Linked DNA regions of Homo sapiens: regions 1 and 3 are each linked to region 2. The links are contacts of gene promoters, found by promoter capture Hi-C in human tissues and cell types (Jung and others, 2019). All regions are on one chromosome and are shown on one strand. Each heading gives the region's core, a stretch centred on a gene start or on the middle of the fragment in contact. The rest is flanking DNA. Distances are from core to core; before and after follow the strand shown. Region 1 overlaps TBX15 (T-box transcription factor 15). Region 2 holds the start of TBX15 (T-box transcription factor 15). Region 3 overlaps TBX15 (T-box transcription factor 15).

Region 1 (4,453 bases), core at 1,411-3,910, 41 kb after region 2:
AAACTTGAAAGAAACTCCCACAAAGTAAATCACCAGGACTGGATGGTTTTCATCCAAGAGTTGGGGAGGAAATGAAGTGTGAAATAGCACAGATACTGATGAAGACATTAGTTCTCCATTAAAACCACAACTGTGTCAGAGCAGAGGAAGTTTGCTAACATGATGACCTTATTTCTAGAGGGGAGAGATTAGTGGCCTCTCAGATGCCTCTGGAAAATCTGGGCCACTTGGAAAGAATAACATAAAATATGAACAATGACACAATAGCTTTTATTTCCTGAAAGCATGTAAGAGGGATATTGTGACAATTCATGCACAGCAGCATTCCAGTAGAAGCCTTAGAAATAATATGATAATAAATATGTAATGCATATGCTGCTATTCCTGACTCCTGTGTCCATGAAACACATCACTAATCAATCTGGTACTCTTCCCTATGAGCTTGGATTGGGCCTCATGCTTCTGAATTTCAAGCTCTCAAATGCCACATTCAAATGGCTAGAGCTGACATGCATGTTGAAACTCATTTGCTCTCCCTTCCTAAGAGGATATATTTTATCCTGGTCCACACTGACTCATAATTAAATTGTAAATAATGGCAAGAAAGAGGTCTTTCACAGGCAGTTTAGGAGCATGATAAGAAACATGTTGCGTTTTTTCTTCTAAGGACCAAGTTAGCAGAATATTTATCTCTAATTTAGTAATATTTATCTTGTGCAAACTGAATTCAGATGTGTAATCACAACTCAAACCATGGTAGGGTCTTTCTGGAGGGAAGAAAAGTCACTTTCTCTGAGGCAACAAGCAGCATGTTTCACAAGATCATTTTGAGAAATGAGAATCAATAGCAAGATCTTTTACTAGGTGTTTCTTTGTGAAGTTGAAAAACAGTTGCAAACATTGAGTCCTGCCACAACAGTGACTCTGTGGGGTAAAGGCAAAGTGAGGTATGCTTTGAGAGAAGAATTGCACTGAGGCCCAGAGGGGAAAAGAGCCAGGCAGGTTGGACCCTAGAGAAGTTGAGCAACTTTATGTAAAACCTGAGGTTTCTTTGGGACTAGCTTTTGTTTTAGGAGGGAGCAGAAGGCCAGCTCTGCTGGTGGTCTCAGAATCCCACAGGACCAGTCCCTGGAACATTTTGCCATTGGATTGAGCAAAGCCTTCTTTTGCTGAAAATAATTAGAGCAATTTGGCCATACTAATTATCCTGCAGCCTAGTGGCCTCTGTGTAAGAGGATATGTGATAGAGCCAATCTCTCGGTGTGGACTGTAAACTGACCTTTTAAAGATGTTATCTGTCTGCCCCCATTATAAAATGGGTTATTTTGCTTGATCAGTGAAAAGTTGCTACGTATGTCTCTTAACAGAGAATCAGAATATAGGAAAAGGCACTTAGCATAATAGAGACCCTGACTGTACTGTGACTCTTCACTGAGTCACCACTGGGGAGATGGTCAGATGCTATGCTTCAGAAACCAAAAGAACAAATGGGGTCCATTGGTCAGCACACTTGGCTGCTAGTTCCCTACCACCACAAGATAACTCATGACCTTGCTCGCATTTTGCAGAATCACAGATCATGGAACAAGATGCTGGGTAGGTCATTTTGTCTAGATCTTTGTCTCATAGGAGCAAGCAGTTAACGTCTCCATTTTAAAAATGAGGCAATAGTTGCTCAGCAAGAGTAAATGAAGTACTGCTGCTGGGGGAGGCATGGACCAGTTTGAGGAGAGAACCCAGGCTCTCAGCAAGCAGGTCTTCTCACTTCACCACTTTGCTTCACCGAGTCTCAGTTTCCTCATCTCTAATGGGCACTGCAAGTATGGATTAAGCATGGTATTTAGAGCACATTGAGAAATCTCTGCAGGGTGAATGATTAAATGTAATGCTGATAAGTTACATTTTTATATGGCACTTTATAATTTACAAAGTGCTTTCCTCTGCATTGTTTTATTTTGCTGGTGCCTCATTGAGTTGCGTAAGCAGTAGGATTCCTTCTCCACTTCTCACAGATGTGTCAACTGAGGCACCACAGGGTTAAATGGCTCCTCAAGATCATATCTCTAGGTAGAGTCAGAATCAGGACTCACACTCTTGCTTTCTGATTCCAAACCAGGACTAACACTCCTACCTTCTGATTCTGAATCCAGAGTTCCTTTCACCATAAAATGACAAATAATGCAGTTGACTGTATTTATTATTCACTTTAATGACAGCAGAGTCTTCAGTGTCACAGTGTGGTAAAAATAGATGTTTAGCTGGGAGGACCAGGAGGTTCTTGGTAGCAGACAAACTGAGCTCACCAAAATGTTCTTCTCATGGGCAGGCTCCATTGCCATGGCCTTTAGGAAAGCCTTGGCAGGCCTACCTGGGGCAGCCTCACTTACTCACTGTGTCCAGCTTTCCCTGTGGAGCTGCCTCTCAACCCCAGTGCCAGATGCAGACATTGCCTTAGAGGACATGAGGTGGAGGGATTTCTTCTGAGATACAGGGACCACTGCCTAAGAGCACATCCCCAGTGAGGGGATTGGACTGCAAGTCCCGCAACAGCAGACTTGCTGTGCAGACTTTTGGCACACATAAGGAGAAAGAACCTGGTAAGCTTGGGGTTCCTGTGCCACTAATGTTTTCCTGGGAGATAGGGGAAAAGAGAACCAGAGTAAAAGCAGCAAGACCAAAGGAAAAGCCACGTTTTCATTCACTCAAAAATAATTTATAATTCATCTACTTTCCCCAAGTAAGTAGGTGAATATGGATTATAATTTATCCAACTTATATATATGTGTATGTGTGGTTAAAATAAAGATCAATGGAAAATAGGGAATCATACAGAGAAAGCAAGATGGTCTCAGGTGGCCATTTTAATACTCATTACTACATAGAGAAACACAATCCCTTCCTCTTCATAATAAAGATAAAATATATTTTTATTAAGATGCACCATTAGTAATCTGTGTCATATTCTTTTGAATCTTTTTCATTGTAAATATCTGGCTGAGGGAAAAAGCATTTTGTTACAGCAGAATAGAGCTTGGAAAGATGGATGTTTATTACACTTGAAGAAAACCTATCAAACCAGTGTAGTCCTTAAGGCCTTTTAAAGTCATAGATTCCTTTGAGAATCTCATAAATCCCATGCATCCTTGCCCCAGAAAAGCACACAAGCTTTTGCAAATTTAACTTATCATTTTAGGTGACTTGTAAACCTCCAAAGCTTGTCCATTGACTTTAGGTTAATAACCTCTTCATTTAAATAATTAGAAGTCAATATTTTATATAATAAATTTTTTCTTTATAAAAATATTCATCTCAAACTATGACTGTAGTTAAAATGTACAAGTATAGCAAGTGTCATATAAAATATTCTGATATCTATGAAATTTCCTAGCCTATAGCATTTGTATTTTAAACTTGTACTCATTGCACATTCACTTATAGTTTTACTGTAGTCTTATTTTTTTAAAGATGCTATATATTGTATACTTTATTGTAATTTGCATTTGATAATACTTGTGTAGTACTTGGTATAAAAAGGGAAATCTGCCTTCACTCATACATCAATGTTGATTATATGTAGAATATGTATATAAAGTAATACTTTAATATATACAACAGCTCATACACCATCAATAAGATCCCATCCTCCAGACTTGTAAATTCTTGGAAAAAATTACTTCCACATGTTCCTAAAAGTACTTAAGGATTTTTGACTGGTTGGTGGACCATTGACTCTGAATATCTGACCTGTCAAAATGCCATCTTTAAACTCCAGTGATGCATAGAGGCTTGGAATTAGCCAGGGTTGAATTTATTACAGAACAAAGAGAGGTGATGATTAACACACCCATCTGAACAGTAGGGGGGGAAAATAATCCTTGAATGGATTAGATGCCATGATCCTAAAACCACATTCTCTGAGTGTTGGGTTCTTGCCCAGGAATGGGAGAGGCCAAACGTTGATGCCTTTTAAATGACAGGGTGTCTCCATGGAGCTCTGGTTAGGGACAGTGGGGTAGAGAGTTTGGGGTCAATTGAGAAAAAGCCTTTCTTTCTCCTGTGACCTATCAGATTGAGGACCTAGACCTGCTCTGTGTGCAGTAACCCTCAAAACTTACAGCCCACCTGATTAGTGTTATACAATTATCAGTCTGCCTGTCTAGGTGGAGATTAATGTGAATATGTAAATAAATGGACTTAATTTTTAACCACTAATCAGAGTTAACTTACAATTTTGGGGGGACTGTAGTATGCTGCTTTAAAGACTGGAATAAATGCTGCCAAAAAGATGAAATGAATTCTTATACACTGTCCCACTTAGTTGTGAAATAGACAGGCTCTCTCAATTCACTGGCAATGTCTGGTAGGTTCTGAACACTCCCAGGCTATGTTTTCAGGGAAATTTATCTTTGTAAGAATAGTCCATGAACAGAGTACTAAACCCATTTTCTGATTG
Region 2 (5,035 bases), core at 1-2,500:
GGCCTCTCAGTCTGTCCCCCGCCCCCGGGACCCAGCTCTTTCCGGCTTCTTTGCAAAAGGATAGAACCGTCTCGACCAGGGCACTAGGACTGGAAGATCGGGCTGTGTCTAGGCCGCTGTCCGCGAAATCCGAGACGTTTTTTCAGCTTGGCTAGGACCGACTTCGCTGCCGGTTTGAGCTTTCTCTGCACTCGGGGGTCTCCTGCCGTCCTCGACCGGTGGCGTAACTTGGGAAGAGGTGTGGGAATTAAGAATGGCCAGGAGCGTTGGATTTTTTAATTCCTTAGAAATCCATGTTGAATGCAGTCCTTAGAGATCGCAAAAGGCAGGGGGCGGCCAGGGGGGAGATCAGCTGGCCGGGAAAGCCATGGTCTTGAGGTAACGGGATTTGCAGGGAATTTTGAAAAAGCTCCTTCTCTTCTGTTAAAGTTCCTAGCTGTTCTTGCCTGTCACCTCTCCATAGGTTCTCTGCAACAAGAGCCCGGAACAGGCGAAGCGCAGCCCAGCGTTCGGGCCGTAGGGAAAGAGAGTATTTGCGGCGTGAGGGGGCCCAGCTGGAATACGCCTGAGGAGCTCGCCCTAAACCCCGCGCTCCGCCGCCCGCCCCTTGCTCTCAAGGCGCCTGTGTCTCCTTCTCCACCAGGTAGAGCTGGAAGGAGGAAGCGGTCTTTGAATTTTCAGTTACAAGACCCTGGTTAGTAACAGGGCTTTCTGTTTGCTTGTTTGTTTGTTTCCTTTTGCCTTACCCAGATTTGCTTAGAAAACGTTCAGTAGGAACATTAAAACCTGTGTGGCGAAATCCAGGAGGAACCAGAATATTCTAAAGCACCTAGGGGCTGACGCGAAATTATCAGAATCGTTTTCTGGCATTTTGGACAGGTTAACATTTTGTCAGAGCCCCAAAATTCCAGATCTGCAACTAAAGTGACTCTGGACTTGCAGCGTCTATGAGACCAGCAGATCTGGAAGAAAAACGTATGGATTTGGGATTTGCAGGAGTTTGTAAAGGCGCAGATCAGACCTCAACTTTCAACTGTCCTACCTCCCTCTTGGAGTAACCCATGGGGAAACCGGGAAGCCAGGGGTTAAAGTCGGCCCAGGAGCATCCAGGGGACGACTGGCGCTGCGCTTTGGCCCGGGCCTCAGTCTCTCCCTTCCTCTCATTGGTTCGCGCTCTCGGAGTTTCTCTTGTTCCCTCCTCGCTATTGGTTGGGGGCTGGCTTTTTTCCCCCTCAGTCTTTTTCTTCCTCCCCCTCCCTCTCCCTCACCCCTCGGACAGGAGCGCACCGCCTGCCCCCTGTTCCTCGGGAAGGGAGGAATTTAGCGGAAAAAAAAGTTTCCCAGAAGTTTGGATCACAGGGAGGACGGGAAGGCAGAGAGGAAGAGAGAGAGAGGGGGAGGAGAGAAAAAGAGAGGGAGGGGAGAGAGAGAGAGAGAGAGAGAGGAGAGAGAATAATAATAATAACAAAAACAAGATGAAGTTCAGTGGACACAGTCTGTGAGCGCCTGCCCCGGTGGGTGGGAAGCAGGACTCGGGCGCTCATGCAGCGAGCGGGCGGCGCTCGGGGCGCTAGTTCCTAGCAGCTGGGCCAGCGTAGGGGCGCAGGTCGGATCCGGCAGAGGAGGGCGGAGGAGGACGCAGGGGGAGGGTGGAGAGACCCGCGAGCCGCAGTCTCAGCCTCGTCCGACGCGCCTCCGCCTCTCCCGGGCCGGGCCCGGTGGGCGCTCAGAGCTTGAGGGCGCCGGCTGCTCCCTCGGTAGCGGGGGCAAGCGGAGGCAGGGGTGTGGGCGGCTAAAATGAGTGAAAGGAGAAGATCTGCAGTCGCCCTGAGCTCGCGAGCACATGCCTTCTCCGTTGAAGCCTTGATCGGCTCAAATAAAAAACGGAAACTGCGAGACTGGGAGGAGAAGGGGCTGGACCTGTCTATGGAGGCGCTGAGCCCCGCGGGCCCACTCGGAGACACGGAGGACGCGGCGGCACACGGCCTGGAGCCTCACCCGGGTGAGTGCGTCGCAGCCGACCGCGGGAGGCGGGCGGAGAGGGGACGCCGAAGGGCCAGTCGCCGGTCGCGGGTGAGGAGCTAGGCCCTGCCATTGACGCCCTGCCTTGCCCCAACATAGGTTTCTGTTTCTTCGCGCAAATGCCCTGAGCCTCCCTAAATTCACCGGAACCAATTTTTGGGGCTGGACTGAGCCTTGCATTTTCGTCGCCAGCCTAAGCAAGGAGTCCTGTTTGTTTGCATTTCTTTTTCTTTTGGGTGGAGAGCGCAGCTTTCTGGGTGTCCGTGGATGAAGGGCTGCCGGTCCCTGGGATTGGGAGGGGCGCGGGCCGAAGGCAACGGCGGGAGCCGAGATCTAGGACTCGCTTCTGAGAACTCGGGAGGACTGGCGCGGCGTTCTCCAATCCAATACCTCAGTCTTCGGGGAATGACCAGTTGTCTCATTTAGCCTTCAACCTCGTCCTTGCCTTTCTCCCACCAACTTTTCGATGGTGGAACATAATTATATTTCTACTCCTTTGGCGTTTACGGAAACAAGAATGGATGTTAGACCCCTTACTCCTTGGGTCACTCTTCAGGGCCCACATCTCTGTGTATTTAGGGTGTGGGTACGATTGATTTGTGTCTCAGATCCTACAGTAACCCATGTATATTATGTGCACGGAACATGTAAAAAGCAGGGGGGATGTCATGTCTGTATTTTAACAGAACCCTAGGAGGGGAGAAGCCAACTTTAACGTTTTGTGTTAAGTGCCAAGATTTCAACTGTGCAAAAACAGCCCGGGGGAACAGCTGTTGTCGGAAGAATCTTGAGTGTGCGCGCGCGCACATACAACGCTCGCAACTTGGTTTAGCGGTTTCAGAAGCTTTCCAGCCCGGACTTCTAAAACCATGCTGGAAGGTGCTCCTGCTGAACAGCCAGAGCTGGGGAGTAGACCCCGCTTCACACGCTGACAAGCCCGGGGAGGGGGCAGCGGCCTGCACTGGGATAGAGACGGTCTGGGGCTCAGGAGCTTGGGGATCTCAGCCACAAAGCTGTCCAACTCAGAGGAGGGACAGCTGTCGCTTACATTTTCTCTTTAGGCAGTGACAGTTCAATTTCCATGCTCCCGAGGCTAATAATAATGCGATTAGCGGGTGACCTGCAGAGATAGAGTTTTATGAATTCTCCGTGTTTTTGTGGCCCGTTACGGTATTTGAGTTTAGTGCTGGGGAATTATTTTTATTAGTCGATGAAAAGAAAATTAAAAGGAGATTTATTTCGACCGTCCAAGCCTTTTCCTGTATTTGAATGCAAGTGCTTGTCCACGCGGACCCCTGCGTGGGCATTCCAGAAAGGCACCCAGGGCTACTGTGTGTTTCCCTTCGCTGGCCAGACCCTATTTCCTCAGCTCATTTATCTATTGTCAAAATCTCGCGTGGGCCTTCATACAGTTAGAAGTTCTTGCAGGGGTTATGACGCCTTAGAATTTGTAAGGTTCTTTTATTTTCCCCACGGCGGAAAAAACAGAAGTTGTTTAGCTGCGCGTGGCAGACGTCCTGTCCCGGGGAAGTTTTCTCTTGGGAGGCCCCAGATCGCACGGAGCCCGTCTAGGGCCTTATGTTCAAATGGGTAATACATGGGGTCATAATTAGAGATTCAGATCAGAGTTTGCTCTTTCTGCCGTTCTCCTTAGCCTGAGCTCCATTCAGGAGGCAGAAGAGAGAAAACTTAGGGAATGAGGCAAAAAGAAACCATTCCAGAGCGTGAACCTGGGGAGCTAAGCTCATGAATTCTATTTACTCGCTCCCGCGGGATGGGGGTGGGGTGGAAGATCTAACAGAACTAACTTTATGTAACAGAGTTCGGTTGGTCATTTCCCATTACGTTATCATTTTTTAAAAAAGAAAAAGATGGGTATTTGGATTAGAGAAAACGAAATATATTTGTGGGGCAAGTGTCTAGGAGGAAGAAGCTGAAAGCCCAGCACCCTCTGGCTTTCTGCGGAGCTGGGCTACAGGCCGGGCCTAGCCTTTTAGTGGGCCGGGGGAATCCTTAAGTTGGAGCCCCCGCAATGGCTAAGCCTTTCTTAACGATTTGCTGATAGGATGAGAAAAGATCTTTTAGTAAAAAGGGCGCCGTGGCGTGGAGACGCGGCGGTCCAGGGAGCAGAAGAGGTGGAGCTGTCGGCTCCAGACTCAGGCGGTAGCGAAAGGCGCGACCAGGGCTGGGGGTGTTTTTAGGCCTTTCTTTTTCTGTAATACAGCACCCTAACGAACACACACAGGGACACATTTAAAGATGTGTGTATGGAGGAGTAATGCAGGCGACCCTATTGTGCCCAGGGCAGCGTCTCTTCCCGGGTGAGCCTCATTGTTTTAACTCTTTTGTCCTTAGGGCCCAGAAGCCGCTGCGTGGTTCTCCCGCCCTAGGCCGATAACAAACCGGGAATAGGAAAAAAACAAAAAATTGTTTTGCGGGAAGAATGAAACACACACACACACACAAACACACACGCACACGTTCATGCCTAGAGTATTCTCACCATCTCTCATAGCACCGTTTTTTAGTCCGCTCTGCCGGAGCTTCAAAATTCCGCGATCTTTAGACAACTCTAGGGTCAGATTTTAATGTTTAACTTTCATTCAAAGACGAGGCCTTTTGCTTTTTCACAGCCCATTTTTCTTTCCGCGTCTGGACAGAGCTGGCTTTAGTTGGCGCCCGAGCACCCGCAGCTTGGGGCACCAACCTGCAGCAACGGGGGATCAGTCCGGCCTGCGCGTTGTAGGCACTCACTCCACAGAGGAAACTATGTATTTCGAAAGCGTTTCAAAAATTCCACCGAGCCTGGTGGCCCCGAAAAACCCCAAGGCCCGCCAGACTTTGGAGAAGGGTCTGTGAGGTACCCTCACTGTCATACCTACGCCGGCACTCTCAGTCTTTTGGAGAAGCTACTAGAGAAGTGCCTCAAGACCAGCCTCGGAGGAGCCTGGCTCTCGAGCCTGCTCTCCCCCGCCCTCTCCCAGAGCAACAGAGGAACTTTCGAGCTAGGATC
Region 3 (4,340 bases), core at 332-2,831, 58 kb after region 2:
GATTCAAAGAATTTGCAGAAGTAGGAGCCATTACATTCTTCCATTCTTATTTATTTGTGATGGCATCAACAAAACCAAAGCAGCTTGCACTCACTTCTCTGCATTTGGACATCTTGGTAAAGTTGTTCTGTTGTGTTTGTTGTGATTGTATTATTTTCCTCCAAGGGCCAATCAAATGTAAGTCATGTAAATCACAAACATTTTCCACCTACAAATGTATTTCAGCTAATATTGGAAGTCCATGGGATCTTAACAGCCAAAATATATATTTCCAAAGCAAGTGTTTACTTCACCATTAAATACTTTCAAGAAGTTTGCTTCCCAAATAACAACTTGCATCTTCTAAAGTATTTAAAGCAACAATGCTTTTGTAGTAATTTTTAAAAAAGAATTGACTTGATGCATATTCTGAGCCTGTTGATGTCCATTGTGTTTTATCATTGACTTGAAATTATTACACAACTTTATTGGTGACCTATGGAATTTCTTGTAAAACTGTTTTTCTAGGATTACAAAATTTTAAAAACACAGCTTCTCTTGATATAGACACTTTTAGTTAAGCTACTCCTTTATTGGTATGTTTCAACTTTCCATAGTTAAGTATTTATTTTGTGCTGGACACTCAACATACATCTTTGAAACTTACAGGAACCCTATGAGGTTGGACATAATCATCCCATATATGGATTAGGATGCAGAGGATGAAAGACATTAATTAGCTTGGCTAAGGCACATGGGTACTAAGAGGCAGCTCCAGAATTCTGCATAAATCTGTGTGGCTCTAAAACAGTGGTCTCAACTCTGAACTGTGAAGAAATGGCTGTAGTTCTTGCCCCTTGGATTCAAAATGAAACGATTTAGATAAAATTAAATTTGGGCCGGGCACGGTGGCTCACGCCTGTGATCCCAGCATTTTGGGAGGCCAAGGTGGGTGGATCACCTAAGGTCAGGAGTTCGAGACAAGCCTGGCCAACATGGCAAAACCCTGTCTCTTTTAAAGTTACAAAAATTACCTGGATGTGGTGATGGGTGCCTGTAATCCCTGCCACTTGGGAGGCTGAGGCAGGAGAATCGCTTGAAGCTGGGAGGCGGAGGTTGCAGTGAGCCAAGATCGTGCCGTTGCACTCCACCCTGGGTGAGAGAGCAAGACTCTGTCTCAAAAATAAATAAATAAACAAACAAATAAATAAATAAATACATTTGGACTAAGCTTTTCAGCATATAGGAATAGTTCATTGAAATTAAGCAAAACAGTTATGCTACTTTTGTGTTTTCAAAGCCAGTGTACATAATCTCACATGTCATGGGGAACAAAAATCGCATCTTACTGATTGTGAGCTGTTTTCATGAACATAGCCATTTAAAGTAAAATAATATTTTGGTTGGGTCCAGTTTATCTACGTGTATATAAGGAAACCTCCCAAAACAATAAGATATGACAAAAACATGAAGTTAAAATAAATCTGAAATTTTGTTTATTTTCTTTCTTTTCTGGAGCTCTCTTCCTTCTCTCAGTAGTGAATAAAACCATTAAAGGCTTCCTAGGGGGAGAAGATGGGCTGGATAACTGTGTTCAATATCATCTCTTTTTCGTTGCTTGGGTCTCAGTGTACTTCTGTTCCACATTTTGTGGTGTAAAGGCTTGGAAGAAAACAAAGTAACTCAAGGAAATTTTTTTAAAGTTTTTGGTAGAAGAGTTGGTTTGGAGAGAGAAGAAATATTACATTTTTTTTTTGTCTATAAGATTTTCCGGTATTCTTTTTGGGTTTTTACTTTATTACTCTTGGGTCTCTGTATTCCAGTCATGTTTGTTCCTGATATCACTTCGTTATTCCCTGTGCTTTAGTGAATTGAGTTCATTTGAGCATCTCCTTGACAACCTTCTTGTGACTCATTTTGTAATTCTTCTGCAGTATTTTCATTTCCATATCCCTGATTTCACAAGTTCACCTTAATATCTGGATACTCTACACATTCCCCAAGACAGACACATAGTTTGTTCTTTAGTAATAATTGAAATCCTTTGTTTAAGTTTAGAAACTACATTAATTGGTTCTGTATTCAGTTGTCTCAACTGTTGTTACTACATCTAATTCTTCTCAGGTAATTCTGAAACAACTCTGAATCATACAAATAAGGCTTTCTCTTCTGTGAATTTTCTTCATTCCTTCTCATTCTCCTGGTTAATTTCTTGCTTCTCACTCATTTTTCTTGCTATGCAGTATTGTCAGTATTCTTTTCCATTTTAATTCCAATCTCCATCTTCTTAATTATGTTAGTTATATATGGCTTTCTCTCCTTTTTCTTACTTAGATGATCTTAGTCACCATCTACCTCCTTCCACACCCCAAACTGTGATCCTATTGATTCAGAGCTGCTGAAGTCTATAGAGCCCTCAGTCTTTGAGTGTACCAACCCAACCTGCATAATCAGCACCATGGACAGAGGTGCTTGCAAGGATTAATGGGTTTAGAAGACAAAAGAACTGGCCTAAATTTAGCCATAAAATTAAAACCAAACACATCTCTTTTTGTAAAACATGAAAGGTTAACTTTTCTTTAGACTGTTGTGACTTCACTTGATATTCTATGCTAAAATGTGACAAAAAGAAAAAAAAGGCTTGCGAAGTTTTTAAGAAGAGAATTCAAAGGTAGTCACAGAATTTTAAAGCAAGGGGGCACTGTAGAGATTATCTAGTCGATTTCCTTTGTTTTATAGGTGATGGGGTTAAATGATTTATCCAAAGTCACATAGTTCATTTATTTTAGAAGTCAGGTACTGGAAAGGGATGGGTAGCTTCTCCATTAAAGGTCATATAATGGTTCCAGACAGAACAGATATTGAATTAAAAACATCTAACACCTTTTTTTGTAAAGGTATGAATAAAAGAAATCTCTCTCTTTCGTGTAATACAGCCTCTCTAGGTGACTGGGGGAAACCATATTTTCTTATCTCAGGTAGTAAATGAGAGGACTTTTGCCCCATCTCTGGCAAGATGCCCTCCAAACATTTACATATACAGGGAAGCTATAAATCAGTGTTATTAAGAAGGGAATTACTTATCTGTATTTAAATGTGTAGATCAAGTTTCCCAAATTTTTGGAATTAATTAATGCAAATTAAAGTGCCTAACCTATAGTGAATGTTAGATTTAGTCAATGTGAGTATCCCATCATCAAATTTCATTAGCCCACCATAAGACAAAAGTATGAGGCCTTTAAATAAAAATTGTGAGGTAGGGGGAGAAATTTTTAAATGATAATATATCCTAGAAGCTTCTGAAGAGTAATAAGGTGAGAAAGATGAAATAGTTATGCATTAATTTTGTAACCATATAAGAATTAGCCACCATCTCTATTAAAGGACTGTGATCCTTCTTGTGCTTTCTCTCAGATATGATTATGATGTCACTGACCTACTGCCAGGGGATATTAGCCTTTTGGGTTGCTTCTCCTGGATGAGTAGTGAGTGTGTAACTAGCACAGAGAGCCTCTCCTGTGACCAACCAGTACATATTTGCAAGATGGCTGTTTGAGGTCAGGGTATGGTCTATGGCCATGAAATGGAGCAAAGCCAATTAGGCCATATGTGGATCAAGCCTGTGACCTTGACCTCATTAGCACTGTGCTCTGCCCAGCTCAACTAACTAGCCCCAGATGGTTAAGCTTAATGCAGCATTTTGCATACAAGTAGCCTAGAGCACATTCAGGGCAATCCAAATTTTTGAACTGAGAACTTTTTATGTCCGGCTTGATACAAAAGAGCTTGAGCTTGATGTTTTTCTTCTTTCTTATGGTTAAAGAAGAATGGTGAACTTTATTCTAGACTTATTGAAACTCAATACCTCTTTTGGGCTGCTCTGTCTCCTCCTCTCTTCAATTATGAGAGAAGTCGTAAAGTGCTATATCCTGACCTCACTTGCTTTGGCAAGTTTAACAAGCCATTGTGGTAGAAACAAGGTATTGCCCAGAGGCCACGAGAATTCATTTGGTATTTGCTTCCAATTCCACAGGGTCCTTCCTCTGACACACACGTTGACAGCCTGAGAACTTGCAGAAAATTTTCTACAGTTTTATGCACTAAAAAATCTTGGTGGCTCTTTGTTTGGAGACTGGTAGCACCTTCCTTTTTTTCTTTTACACTTGAGAGACTATTTTTAGAGTGGTTATTTTCAAATAAACTCAGTTGAAAATATTTTATGATAACTTGCAATAAACTGAAAAGCTCTTCAGATTATAAGAAGAGTGTAAGTTGCTATACTAACCTTTAAAAAGATTATAGCTAATAGGAAATGTATGCATGGCTACACACATGCACACACATGCCTGTGCATACATTTA

What was found. Contacts are between HindIII fragments. The study calls those that stand out against the background at their distance.
Region 1: a contact is called between a fragment that was not itself captured here and the fragment with the promoter of TBX15 in region 2, in 2 of the 25 tissues and cell types used here (psoas muscle and spleen).
Region 3: a fragment that was not itself captured here is called in contact with the fragment with the promoter of TBX15 in region 2 in 1 of the 25 tissues and cell types used here (liver).

The regions. Positions count from the first base shown.
Region 1 is chr1:118,945,094-118,949,546 of GRCh38, reverse strand. The region is part of intron 1 of TBX15 (T-box transcription factor 15); the gene reads left to right. Among named protein-coding and RNA genes, the nearest start is that of TBX15, 41 kb to the left of the region's middle. The HindIII fragment of the contact is 3,904 bases long and covers 709-4,453 here.
Region 2 is chr1:118,984,558-118,989,592 of GRCh38, reverse strand. TBX15 (T-box transcription factor 15) reads left to right here and starts at 1,250. Exons shown (of 8, transcript NM_001330677.2): 1 at 1,250-2,002. The coding sequence starts at 1,798. RefSeq lists enhancers at 1,317-1,849, 1,850-2,383, 3,703-4,380. The HindIII fragment of the contact is 7,773 bases long and covers 1-5,035 here.
Region 3 is chr1:118,927,252-118,931,591 of GRCh38, reverse strand. All of the region lies in intron 2 of TBX15 (T-box transcription factor 15), which reads left to right. Among named protein-coding and RNA genes, the nearest start is that of TBX15, 59 kb to the left of the region's middle. RefSeq lists a silencer at 2,332-2,626. The HindIII fragment of the contact is 5,420 bases long and covers 1-4,291 here.